Linked DNA regions of Homo sapiens: all the other regions are linked to region 3. Evidence: promoter capture Hi-C in 16 types of primary human blood cells and fetal thymus (Javierre and others, 2016). All regions are on one chromosome and are shown on one strand. Each heading gives the region's core, a stretch centred on a gene start or on the middle of the fragment in contact. The rest is flanking DNA. Distances are from core to core; before and after follow the strand shown.

What was found. Contacts are between HindIII fragments. The CHiCAGO score rates a contact against its expected background, and 5 or more counts as called.
Region 1: a contact is called between a fragment that was not itself captured here and the fragment with the promoter of PRAG1 in region 3, in 6 of 17 cell types (M2 macrophages, M1 macrophages, M0 macrophages and 3 more). The highest score is 20.3, in M2 macrophages.
Region 2: a fragment that was not itself captured here is called in contact with the fragment with the promoter of PRAG1 in region 3 in 1 of 17 cell types (M1 macrophages); the score reaches 6.7 in M1 macrophages.

The regions. Positions count from the first base shown.
Region 1 is chr8:8,545,559-8,549,678 of GRCh38, forward strand. No RefSeq gene overlaps it. Among named protein-coding and RNA genes, the nearest start is that of LINC02950, 86 kb to the left of the region's middle. The HindIII fragment of the contact is 493 bases long and covers 1,845-2,337 here.
Region 2 is chr8:8,584,652-8,589,058 of GRCh38, forward strand. No RefSeq gene overlaps it. Among named protein-coding and RNA genes, the nearest start is that of CLDN23, 120 kb to the right of the region's middle. The HindIII fragment of the contact is 8,196 bases long and covers 1-4,407 here.
Region 3 is chr8:8,384,818-8,388,959 of GRCh38, forward strand. PRAG1 (PEAK1 related, kinase-activating pseudokinase 1) reads right to left here and starts at 1,622. Exons shown (of 6, transcript NM_001080826.3): 1 at 1,504-1,622. RefSeq lists a silencer at 1,325-2,004. The HindIII fragment of the contact is 9,968 bases long and covers 1-4,142 here.

The DNA of each region.
Region 1 (4,120 bases), core at 841-3,340, 160 kb after region 3:
ATTCTCAAATTGCCAGGAATGTCATTGAGTACTGCACCATGCTGTCTTAAATGGAGGCAGAACTGAACAGAATAAGTATAATAGGTCTTCAGTGTTCAGAACAGAAGTGGGTGGTGGGAGGCTGCCGTGGTGGTGTCTGCTTTCCCCTGAGGGCTTGATGTAGGCACATTTCAGGCCCTGATCCTTCAGAGGCCAATTTTTATAAAGAAATGGCATGCCCATTCATATCTGGTAAATGTAGGATGTCCGATGCAGCGTGCAATTCCACCTGCTTATTAGGGTTTTCCTTTCATCCCTTTATGTTAAATTCAGTATGTCTACACCACACTCATAGATTTTCCTTACAAAAACTGCATGGATTCTTGGTTATTCTTTTGGCAATGACAGTCATGCACACTTAAAACTCTGAGGCTCATGTTCTATTCTTCCTTCTCCCTTACTTCTCCTTCCCTGCCAAGGCCTCTCAGTTACCAAGTCCAGAAGATTCTTTTACAACATCTCTACCATCGATCCCTTAATTTTCTACTGCTTGGTTGGTAGTTCAGGTGCTAATTGCCTCACCCCGGTCTGCTCTATTTAGCCTCATTTTTTTTTTTTTTAGTGAAATGTTTTTTATTTCATGCATGAACAACTTCAAGTCTCTTTATTAGAGAAATTCTATATATTGGTAATATAAGCCATGGGTCACTGTGGGTTAGTTCTTTAAAAATTAGAACCAGGCCAGGCGTAGTGGCTCACACCTGTAATCCCAGCATTTTGGGAGGCTGAGGCGGGTGAAAACCTTGAGTCTAGTAGTTCGAGATTAGCCTGGGCAACATGGCAAACCCTGTCTCTACAAAAAATACAAAAATTAGCGAGGCATGGTGGCGTGTGCCTGTGGTCCCATCTACTCAGGAGGCTGAGGTGAGAGTATTGCTGGAGTCCGGAAGGCAGAGGTTGCAATAAGCCAAGACCACACCCCTGCACTCCAGCCTGGGTGACAGAATGAGACCCTTTCTCAAAAAAATAAATAAAAGTGAAAAATAAAAATCAGAACTACTAATTAGCATCAAACTCTTCTCTCTGTTATTTTGTGAAGTGTTGTGTGCAGTCATATTCTATTGCTGCAATGACAATTCATACAAATTTTAAGAAAATCATAAGATGCATAGGAATGCCAAGTTTTCCCACTCAGTGGCTTTCTTCATCATCTCACGCAGTCTGCATGGATGAACTGAACCATAAAAGGAGGTGGGAGGTGAGAGAGATTTCCAATGGTCACTGTTTCTTCATATGATCTTGACCCATATCTTTATATATGTGCCCACAGTTAAAGGTTGCTGCTGGACATTTTAGCCCAATGACCACGCCTTGCTTGGAGCCTGGTAATGTTTATCACAAACTACATAAAGATCAAAAGTTCTGATTGTAGGCCATGCCTAGTGGCTCATGCCTGTAATCCCAGCACTTTGGGAACCCAACGCGGGTGGATCACCTGGGGACAGGGGTTCAAGATCAATCTGGCCAACATGGTGAAACTTCGTATTTACTAAAAATACAAAAATTAGCTGGGCATGGTGTTGTGCACCTGTAGTCTCAGCTACTTGGGAGGCTGAAGCAGGAGAACTGCTTGAACCCGGGAGGCAGAGGTTGCAGTGAGCTGAGATCATGCCACTGCACTCAAGCCTGGGTGACAGAGCAAGATTCTGTCTCAAAAAAAAAAAAAAAAAATCTGATTGTAAAATATTACCTTTCCCTATATACTCTGCTTTAGCCTCACTAAGTAGCATATTTAGAAAAATATGGAGAGAATGGATTTTTGAAGGCAAGTCAGACTACCCTAAACACACAAGGAAAAAAATACAAGCTTCCTCCTCACACAGTGCTGAGCATCTAATATTGTTAAGAAATATTTAGGTGGCAAAATGATAGTGTGTGGAAATGGAATTGACTGGATAACACAACACAGAAATTATTTTTTTTAAATATTTTAACCTAAAAAACAATAGTGAATCATCATAAAAACAGAAACAAATTTGTCTGGAAATCAATCAACCCATCCAGGCAATTAAATGGTGTAATAGAGTAAAAAAATCTCATTCTTTCTAGCTCTGCCACTGTAAGTATCTTTGGAAACATGACTAATTTACCTTCCCATTTGAAGATTAGACATAACATATTCATATTTGTCACAGATATTTTTACAAAATTTTGTGGCCCCCTGTGGAAGTTCTAGTGAAGTACAAGAAATTAAACAGCCTGGAGTATACAAACAGAATGTCTAGACTATTTTAAAAAGTAACCATTTGACACACTTTAAAAATAGTCATCAATGCGTTTATTTCAAAAATTATAATAAGCTTTTTTAATAACAAAAAGATATTTTGTCCCTAGGTATGTAATATTCAAGAAATGTACCCTTTTATCTTTATGTAAAGACAGCATGTATAATGTAATGGAAATTTTATGTAGGTACTTTTTTAAAAAAAAGCTGTCTTTACATGTTAGCTAAATGTTTTTGAAGTTTAACTGGATGTTATTGTAAGCCTTAAAAATAAAAACTGCTTAAACATTTTGGAATGTTCTATTGAAATTAGTTATCACAGTGAACTTTAAGGGTATGATTTTGTTACCTATTATCAAACATTTCTTTCTTCCAGCCTCATAATAAAAAAGTAACAGTCCTTAGCTCCAATCACAAATAGAATAAATATGACTATAATTTCACAGAGAGAGAGAACATCAAGGTCAAATTTTCAAAGCCACACGGAGATTAGATTGGCACAAATGAATGTATGCATGTATTATAGTCAAGTGAATAAAGTGAAAGTACATATATTGTGTATTCATATCAACGGATACTGTAGGGAAGCTGTTCTCTTAGGCAGGAATTAGCTGTAGTTGACTGAGTTTGCAAAGTACAGCAAGGTTATTAAATAAACAATACAGTAAGACATTCCACTTAACCCAGATCATAAATGAAATCAATCGCAGGCTGTTCATGTCTGTGCTGTGGAAGGCATAAACTGCATTTCCTCTTTCTGTAAGTGGACTGATAAAGAGAAAGGGTGTGCAGTGGATACTGCTCAGCCTGCCCTTTAAAATTATTCTACAGAAAGAGAGAAAGAAACAGAGACCGAGATTGCAACTGACTAACAGTGTGCTGTTCATTGACTCAAGGCACCCAAATCACACGGGCTGCCTCAAAGGTTCCCCACAGGTGGCAAAAGAGACAAACGACCTTCTGGGGCTCTACTTCCAGCAGACAGCAGAGTACATGCAGAAAGAGAATCACTGCAGAGCAAGACCAGCCAGATCGCACTCCCTGCTCAGGCAGCCTCTCTGGGACTGTGGAAATGCTTTGAAACACCCAGCATTGAATAAATGAATGAGTGAGCCCCTGTGCAGTTCATTCACAGGACTTGCACTGAGATGGGGTTGTTTGAAGGAGCTGGGGCGCTCTTCACAAGGAGGAACCTGAATATACCAAATGGCCTGCCTAAGGCCTCCTGCAGTCCTTTGGTTACATGGTCTCTTGGGAGGAGTTTATTGAGATGAGCTTTGCGGCAGTCAAGTTTCCTTTTGTTTGTGGGAAGTAAAACGCAAGAGCTTGTTGAAGAGACCCCTGAGTCAACTTTCCTGAAGCCCACAGTGAGGGAGTGGGGTGGAGGAGGGGATCCCGATAATGGAAGCTCACATTCAATTGTCTGATTTGTGTGCCTCTCCTCAGTGTGGGAGCAAATCACCTTTCAGTTCAATAACAAATGCAATTCAGACCTAGGTGTCAAAGAAAGGCAGGACTTGTCAAATCCTCATCACAGAGATACTGAACACAAAGACCCAGCATCTAGGTCTAGCCACTTCCAGGTTTGCTCATGGCTGACTTCCGGTCCGGTTAGACTGCATCCAGATGAAAAGTCATTCTGATTGGTTGCAGGTTCTGTAGCGACCATAGTTCTTTTGAAGATGGCCTCTGTCTAAATTCTCAGCAGTCCACGGCATTTAAGGAGCCCAGGAAGTTCACAAGAAACAGCTGTAATTACAACAGAGAGAGGAAGGAGGGCAGGGAGGGATCCAAACATGCGAACAAGTTAGCCATCTTTTTTTCTGGATGGAAAATTAAGTGTTTTCTTTAACCCAG
Region 2 (4,407 bases), core at 1,474-3,973, 200 kb after region 3:
ATTCAGTGAACATCAATTATCATAAAGGTCTTCATCTTTGTCGTCTTCAGGTTGAGTAGACGAAGGAGGAGGAGGAAGAGAAGGGGTTGGTCTTGCTATCTCGGGGCGGCAGAGGTGGAAGAAAATTTGGATATAAGTGAATCTCTGAAGTTCCAATCTGTGTTGTCCAAGGGTCAGTTTTACTTTTTGTGCCCAGTAATGTGCCAAGTACTTGCAGGTGAGGGGAGTGAGGAACTTATATTCAGTCCCAAAAGAAACAGACACATTTTAATGTGATGCAATGATTGTTATGGCAGGTGTGCACCAGGAACAGTGGGTACCCACGGGTGGTGGCCAGTCCAGCTTCTAAAGAATGCTCAGAGTCTGGGTCTTTGTGAATCTAAATTAAGCCAAATCCCTCCCCAGTCCACAGGGCTCCAGGTTGCAACTCAGGATACAGCATTACTTTTTTTTTTTTTTTTTTTTTTTTTTTAAGATTGAGTCTGGCTCTGTTGCCCAGGCTGGAGTGCAGTGGTGTGATCTCGGCTCACTGCAACCTCCACTTCCCCGGTTAAATGTCTGATATTGTAGTACAAATAGAATTCCCAACAATTGGGCAAATCAGCAGAAAAGAGAGTTTCAGGAACAAGGTATCACACAAGCAAACTAGGAAAACATAAAACACCATTGTCTAAGAGGCAAAATCATAATCCCTCCTGGAAGTGCAGGCAGGCCCCTGCAGATGGTTTGGAGTACAAGGTACAGAAGCGGGAAACGAAGATGGTGAGGCAGGGCCACCTCAGAGATGGCATCTTGTAACAAATGAAGGGGCTCTAGGGAAAGAGATTCTGCTGAAGTTTTTAAGCAAGGAGAGACAGGTCCAGATTTGCCCCATAGAAGGATTGCCCTGGAAGTAGCAGGGGGCCAGGTGTGTTGGTTCATGTCTGTAATTCCAACATCTTGGGAGGCTGAGGCAGGTGGATCACCTGAGGTCACAGTTCAAGGCCAGCCTGGCCAACATGGTGAAACCCCTTCTCTACTAAAAATACAAAAAAAAAAGAAAATTAGCCCAGCATTGTGGCATGTGCCTGTAATCCCAGCTACTCAGGAGGCTGAGGCAGGAGAATCGCTTGAACTCAGGAAGTGGTTGCAGTGAGCCAGGATCGCACCACTGCACTCCAGCCTAAATGACAGAGTGAGACACCGTCAAAAAAAAAAAAAAAAAAAAAAGGAGGGAAGATGAATTTCGCAGAGGAAGTACTGCTGCACCGGGAGAAGCCATGGGCAGGTAAACCCTTTGGGTCACTAAACTCCCTATCCTTGGCTCCTGTACTTCTCTCACACTGCAACCCAGTATTTCCAGAAACTCTGTTGTCTTTACTTTCAAAATATTTCTACAACCTGCCTTTTCTCACCACCTCCACTGCTACCACCCTGTCTCAGCCACCAATATCTCTCACCTGGATTGTGGCTACAGCTGCCAGCCTTGTCTCCCGGTTTGTCTCTGGTTTCTTAAGTTTGTTCTCAAGGCAGCAGGCAGAGTGACCTTCTTAAAACAAACATCAGGTCCCATGATTCCTCTGCTCAAAACTCCACAATGCCTCTTCGTCCTGTTCAGCTGAAGTTCACATAGTGAACCCTCATCGCACTTCTAATCACTCTCTCCTGGCTCCTGCGCCTCCAGCTGTGTTGTTTCACTTGCACACTAGCAGCCACGTTCCCAATTGAAGGCCCCTTCCCTCTGTCTGCCATGTTTTCCCCCAGGGAACACGTGGCTTTTCTCCTTCAAGCCTTTCATAAAATGTTATCTTCTCAAAAAGGCTTACTCCAATTATCCTATTTAAAAAGGCAAACTACAGCTTCTCCACCCAAATTCCTCCTAGCACCTATGTCCTATGCATAGTAGTTATTATTATCATTTCTTTTTTGAGACGGAGTTTCACTCTTGTTGCCCAAGCTGGAGTGCAATGGCATGATCTTGGCTCACTGCAACCTCTGCCTCCCAGGTTCAAGCGATCCTCCTGCCTCAGCCTCCCGAGTAGCTGGGATTACAGGCATGTGTCACTACACCTGGCTAATTTTTGCATTTTTAGTAGAGATGGGGTTTCACCATGTTGGTCAGGCTGGTCTCGAACTCCTGACCTCAGGTGATCTGCCCACCCTGGCCTCCCAAAGAGCTGGGATTACAGGCGTGAGCCATCGCACCCAGCCAGCAGTTATTTTTTAAATTTACTACATAATTTCTTAAAATTCATTATATTTTTTAAATTTGCTGTACAATTTACCCATTCATTATGTTTTTATTTTCTGCCCTCTTTTTTCCCCTAAATATTCTAGGGCAGGGATCTTTGTACATTTGGTTTACTAATTGTATCCCACTTTCCTAGAATGGTGCCTGGCATGCAATATATCCCCAACAAATATTTTTTGAATAAGTAGCAGTAGTTCAGATAAGCTATAAGGGACTGAATTAGAACTATGATACTGCAAAGAAAAGGAGAAAGACTTCAGATATAGTCATAAGATTTCCCAATTACTCAAAAGTGCTGGGTGACAGAAGGGGAATGGTGTGGAATGAATGTCAGGCTTGGATGACTAACTGGGACAGAGGACAACTTGGTATGGAGGACAGGGAAGATAATGACGAGCTCTGTTCGGGACATTTTTGGTTGGACTTGGCTTTGGAATACTCAAGTGGAGACTCCGCAGGAAGTTAGAATTCAATTTTAAAGCTCACTAGAGAGATTAGAACAGATGCTGTACAATTAGAAGCCATCAGCAAACTGACTTGCAAATAAGCTATTGGCACCCTAACTCAAGGGACTAGATATCAGTAGCCAGCAAGAACTCTATATTATGTTATATTCATACAGAGAAAATATAATGCATATAATGCATACAGAGAAAAGAGAATTTCCAGGCACATTCTACAAGAGATGGCAATATTTGTCTATAATTTCAAATTTTATTCTCCAAGGCTGGTTTTTCCTATGAGATATGAGCTATAACATCCCAAGATGAAACAAAGATTTTCAAAAGTCAAGGTGAAACCATTCATGGGGTGATTACATTTTGTTCAACTGAAAAGTATTAAACACATACACACATACACACACACACAAACTTAATTACGTTGTTTATCTCAGATAATCATCTAAGTGTTGGTGAAAGGGCAAAATATGACTTTTCCCTCTAAACTAAAACACAACATTTCCCCCTCCCCCAGGAATCTCATAGATTTTTAAAAGGCATCGTATGAAGGCAGGTAATATTATCTTGCTTTACAAAGGGGTCAGTTCACAAAAAGGTTAAGGTAATTCCCAAGGACTGTATAAAGAGTCAGAGGGCGACTCCTGGAACAAATCTTCAAAATCTTGGATCTCAGGCCCAGGGTCCCCAAACTGAGGTCATCCTTCTGGTCACAAAGGCTTAGGCAGATTTATGAGATAAGCAGGAGTCACAGCAGTAACGTTAGATTTCGTGGTTTGAATGCTAATAGTTCACTCTTTCTCTGCTCTTTGAAAACTCGTCTCCTTTAATTTCTGCCTATTTTTTAAGCCTGGATGCTTTAGAGCCTAAAGCATCTGTATGTTTTTTGTACCTCTTCTGTCTGTATCTTCTGGTCCTGAATCCTGCTGACCCAGAGATGGGGCTAGGAGTTGCAGGGGCTTCCTTCTTTCTCTGTGGTGGGGAAAGGGCTCCTGATTTTGTCTCATGATGCAAAGAAGTGGTATCAAAATCCAGAAACTTGAAATTCTGAGTAAGGCTCTGTCCTAAAGATCCCAGTGAGGTTGGAAATATTGCCCCTGGTTTCTTGTTCTGCAAAATGAGGAGGTTGGACTTCATCCTTTGGGGTTGTTTTTTGCTCCATAGGTCCATAACTGTATGTTAAGTGAATAAGTCCATTTGAATGGTAGCATCAAAAGGTAGCCAATTCCATTCAAATAAACCAAAATGAATAAACAGTTATATGTCTGTGCTATTTTTGTTCACCAGAATTCTGGGGGCCCCACTGGACAGACTGTCCCACCACATGGAGTGGCTCCTCAATGGAGGAACAGTGTGATCTGGGGGTCAGGGCGTGGGGGTGATGGCAGAGCCAGCATGCAGTGGGGAAGGTGTTTATCTGGAAAATGAGAAAGGCCGTATAACACATGATGGGGTTTTTCCCTATGACACCTCAGATCTTCAATTAAGCACAAAACACAGTGAGATTGCATTGCCTGTGGGAAATAGAGAAAGGCAAGCTCTGCGTTTGGCTTTACATCCAAATCGGACTTAAGGTGACACAGTGAAGAATCTATGGGATCAGAAATAAAAACAGGGAAAAATGAAAGGAAAATGTAGAATTTGTGGGGGGAGGGTGGGACTCTGAACTCCTCCAACCTAGAATAACAGCTAGAGCCTAATGTTACCTAAACTCATGAG
Region 3 (4,142 bases), core at 372-2,871:
CCCCCAGAATTATGCAAATCCTCCCCATTTCAGTAGGAGGCTGCAGTGTCAGATTAGAAAAAAGAGCTCAGCATTCTTTCTGATCCAAGTCATGAAAAAAATGTCTTTGCCTCTGCAAACTTCTGCACTAGATTTGTGGCTACAGTTTGCAAGACTGAAGCTGTCAGATACACTCCCACCCCATTTCAAAAAAGAATCTGAAGAATCAAGGTGGCCAGATCTTTAAGATTAAATATTTTGGCCCAAAATACCCCCTCAGACTTACATCAGAAGTTGCTTATGCCTTATTCTGAAGTGACAGAATTGCAGAAAACATTCACCTAAAATTTTTTTCTGTATGTTACAGTTAAATTAATGCAACGCCAGTAAAAGGAAAGAAATATGTGTGGAAAGTGTCTGAACTTCAGCACACTCCACTGGCCAGGGCTGACCAGGCAGAAAGGAGAAAGTGACAACTTTACCACCCACTAGCCCCCTGCCTCCCTACTCACGCAGAGGGTAAATTACGATATTCACCCAACTTTTCCTTTTCTTTTTTCTTCCTCCAGTGCTGGAGGAAAGAAAATCTCAGAGGGAGGAATGTGGTTTTGCACCCACTACAGTCGAAACCAACCAGACCTCAGGAGAGAAAAATAACTGCGGAATTCCCTAGGGCTTTCTGTCAAATTTTCTTCTCAGAAAGGGAAGGGGAGAGGAGTTGTTAAGAATAGTTCAGGCCAGTGATCAGGAAAGCCTTCTGAGCCTGACTCCGCACTGAATGCATCGCCAAAACTCCTCGCCCCTAGACCATTGGGCTTTGCTATCGGCTCTGCAAAACCATGTGCAGGGAGAGCTTACCTGAGAGAAACGCACACACCGTGAGCTGGCGCTCTCCGCTGCGAATGCCCGGCCGCCTCCATGCCCAGCAGAGGATTCTATGTTCTAAGTGTGTGTGTCCCCGGATACCAGCAAAGGTTAATAACGTGCTCACAGCATGCGTTTCAGAGGGCTCAGCCAGGGCTCGGGGAAAAGGGCATCATCTCGTTGCCTCTGGAGCCCCGCTGCTGCATACCCTGCACCCCCAAACCATCCCCCCGGGTCCTGGTCCCAGCAGCCAGGCGGCCTTCCGTCTCTCCCCCTTGACAATACTCTAGCGGTGGAAAGCAGTCCTCAAAGCGCTTCAGCCTCCGGCCGCAGACAGAGCAGCAAGACCAGAGAAACCATCCTAACAGTCGGTCCTCCCTCCTGGAACTCGTAGGAAAGTTTCCCCGTTTTAAAGAGCGCGATTCTCGAATGAATCAAAAACACCCTCCAGCTCCTCGGTCCTCCCGGCCGGGCGCCTCCCTGCACCTCGGGCACCACCCGGGGCTCACGCGGCCCCGGCACTGCCCACTTCCCGAGCGGTCGCCTGTCACCCCGGGGGTAGCCCGCTCGGCGATCGCAGCGCCCCTCCAAAGCTCCCCTCTGCGACCACGCTCGCCAGACAAAAAGAGGCCGAATTTGGAGAGCGCGTCGCGGGCTCACCTCTGGGCTGCGCTCCCCCGGCCCCTCCGTCGGTCTCCGAGCCGCCAGCCGCCCGGCCGGAGCATTGTTCGCAGAAGGTCTGCGCGCGGTGCGTGCCCGGCCGCGGGCGGGTGGCTTCTGCCTGGGCCCGGCGGCCGGGTGGCAGCTGTGAGCGCGGCTCCGCCCCCTCCGCCTCCGGTGACGCCGCCCGCCCCAGCTCACGCCGCACCTCCGCAGTCCCTGCCGCCGCCCGGCCCCGCCTGGCCCGCGCGCCCCGCCGCCCGGCTTGCGCCTGCCGCTCCCACCCGGCGGTCTCCTACCCCCAGGGCCCCGACTCCTCCAAAGTCTCCAGGCCCCGGGACTCCCTCTCTTGCCCACCCTCCCGCCCCGGACCGGCAGGCTCCGCCCCCAGCCCCAGACTTGGCGCGGGCTGACCCCCGAGCCCAGCACCCGTTTGCACCCCCTCCTCGGTGGGGACCCTGCACAGCTCTGGAGGGGCGAGCTCTGGCGTTGCAATCCTCCTTTTGCCATCATGCGTGTATAGGTGCCCGGCATCACTTCATCCAGCCGGCCCTGCGGGACCCTGGGAAGAGAGGGAGAAGGAAGGGGAAACGAGGAAGTGTGGGGTCGGGAGTGGAATACAGGTCAGGGTCCGAGGCGGGCTCTGAAAGCCACGTGAGCACAGCGAGCCTCAGCTCTCCCTACCTCTGGGAAGAGGGTGGCGCCGGAGGGAGCAGGGCTGGAAGTCCCGGTGGCGGATTCCAGGTTCCGCTCAGTCCCTGGACTGCAGGATTCTGGCAAATTGCTTAACCTCTTTGAACTTTAGTTTTCTGGATGTAGAATGCAAGCGTTGCACTGCAGGGACCTGGCCTTCTACCATGCTGGGACATCCAAGTCTTCCGCAGGCCAGTAATACACCTGTGTTTACACCGTTTCCAGTGAGTCATTCACTGAGATAGAACGAGTTCGAGATAGTCCTCGGGCTAAAAAAATCTTTTCACTGGGAGTATAATAGCTTAAGACCCAGTCAGTCCTGTAGCTTGACCTGGGTGTTTACTCGGGGAGCCAGGGCTATGGTCACCTCCCAGGGCCATGCCGGGTGGGAAGAATTCAGTGAAATGGAATAGGAAGAGGACCCCCCTCCCCCACAAAACAATACCTGCGGCTTCTCTCGCCCTCTATCCCCTCCCCAGGAAGGCAGTTTATTTTGACTCCAGTGAAGGTCCTCTGCCAGTCAGCCTGCGAGCCCCCACCCACTGAGAGGAGGAAGATGGGCCCCCACCCCCACCCCCAGATCCCTGGCTCTCCTCTTTGCTGCTGTGGGTGTGGACAGAGAGGGAAGATGTGTATTTGAGGTTTGGCTTCTGTGTGAGGAAAGGGAAAAAAGGATCCAGGGAATTCTTCCTCATGTTCCAGTGACACCCATGCCTCCTAAGAGGACAGAATCTGGGGGAAGCTGTAGAGGGATGGGAGTGCAATGGACATTCCTTAAGGACCTACCCAGCGCTAAGCAATCCTATGAGGAGAGCATCATTATCCCCATTCTACAGATAAGAAAACTGAGGCTCGGGGGCCTCACAATTTGCTGGGGTTCCTCAGCTGAAAAGTGGTAGTACTAAGATTGGAACCAAAGGCTGTCTGGCTTCGCTGGTAGGCAAGTCTACTCTGCCACTCTGCCCTTGCCAAGTGCAGGTAGTCCAGCCCTATTTTTCTCTCTCCCCTAAGTGGAGAGAAATCATTTGAACAAATACTGGCCGTGCGCGGTGGCTCACACCTGTAATCCCAGCATTTTGGGAGGCCGAGGCTGGCAGATCACCTGAGGCCAGGAGTTCAAGAACAGCCTGGGCAATGTGGTATAACCTCATCTCTACTAAAAATACAAAAATTAGTCGAGTGTGGTGGTGGGCGCCTGTAATCCCGGCTACTCAGGAGGCTGAGGCAGGAGACTCACATGAGCCAGGGAGGTGGAGGTTGCAGTGAGCTGAGATCGCACCACTACACTCCAGCTTGGGTATCAGAGCAAGACCCTGTCTCAAAAAAAAAAAAAAAAAAAAAAGGAAGGGAAACTTTGGTTACACTTCATGAGCATCCAACAGAGCTGAAAGATCCAGACCCTACCAAGACTCAAGAGGGGAAGATGTTGATTAAACAGGTAGGTACAAAGTGGTCTGCAATGGAGAAATACAAAAGTGACTTCAGAAAGTGTGCAATTCATTTACACTGGGAGAGGGCAAACTAAGATGTTTGAGAAGTTCCTGGTTCTCAGGATTCAGGCTAAATGTTTCACTTCTTTCCTCTGTAAGAGAGACATTGACCTCACAGAATAAAGGCTGTGCTGAACACATAAAAGAAGCACTTACTTTTGCACTTTATTTTCTTCTCTTTACCTAACTTATTCTTTTTTTTTTTTTTCCTGGGATGGAGTTTCATCTTTCAATCAGGCTGGAGTGAAGTGGCAAGATCTTGTCTCACTGCAGCCTCCACTCCCCGGGTTCAAGCCATTCTCCTGCCTCAGCCTCCTGAGTAGCTGGGATTGCAGGCGGCCACCACCATGCCCTGCTAATTTTTCTATTTTTAGTAGAGACAGCATTTCACCATGTTGGGCCAGGCTGGTCTTGAACTCCTGACCTCAAGTTATCTGCCTGCCTCGGCCTCCCAAA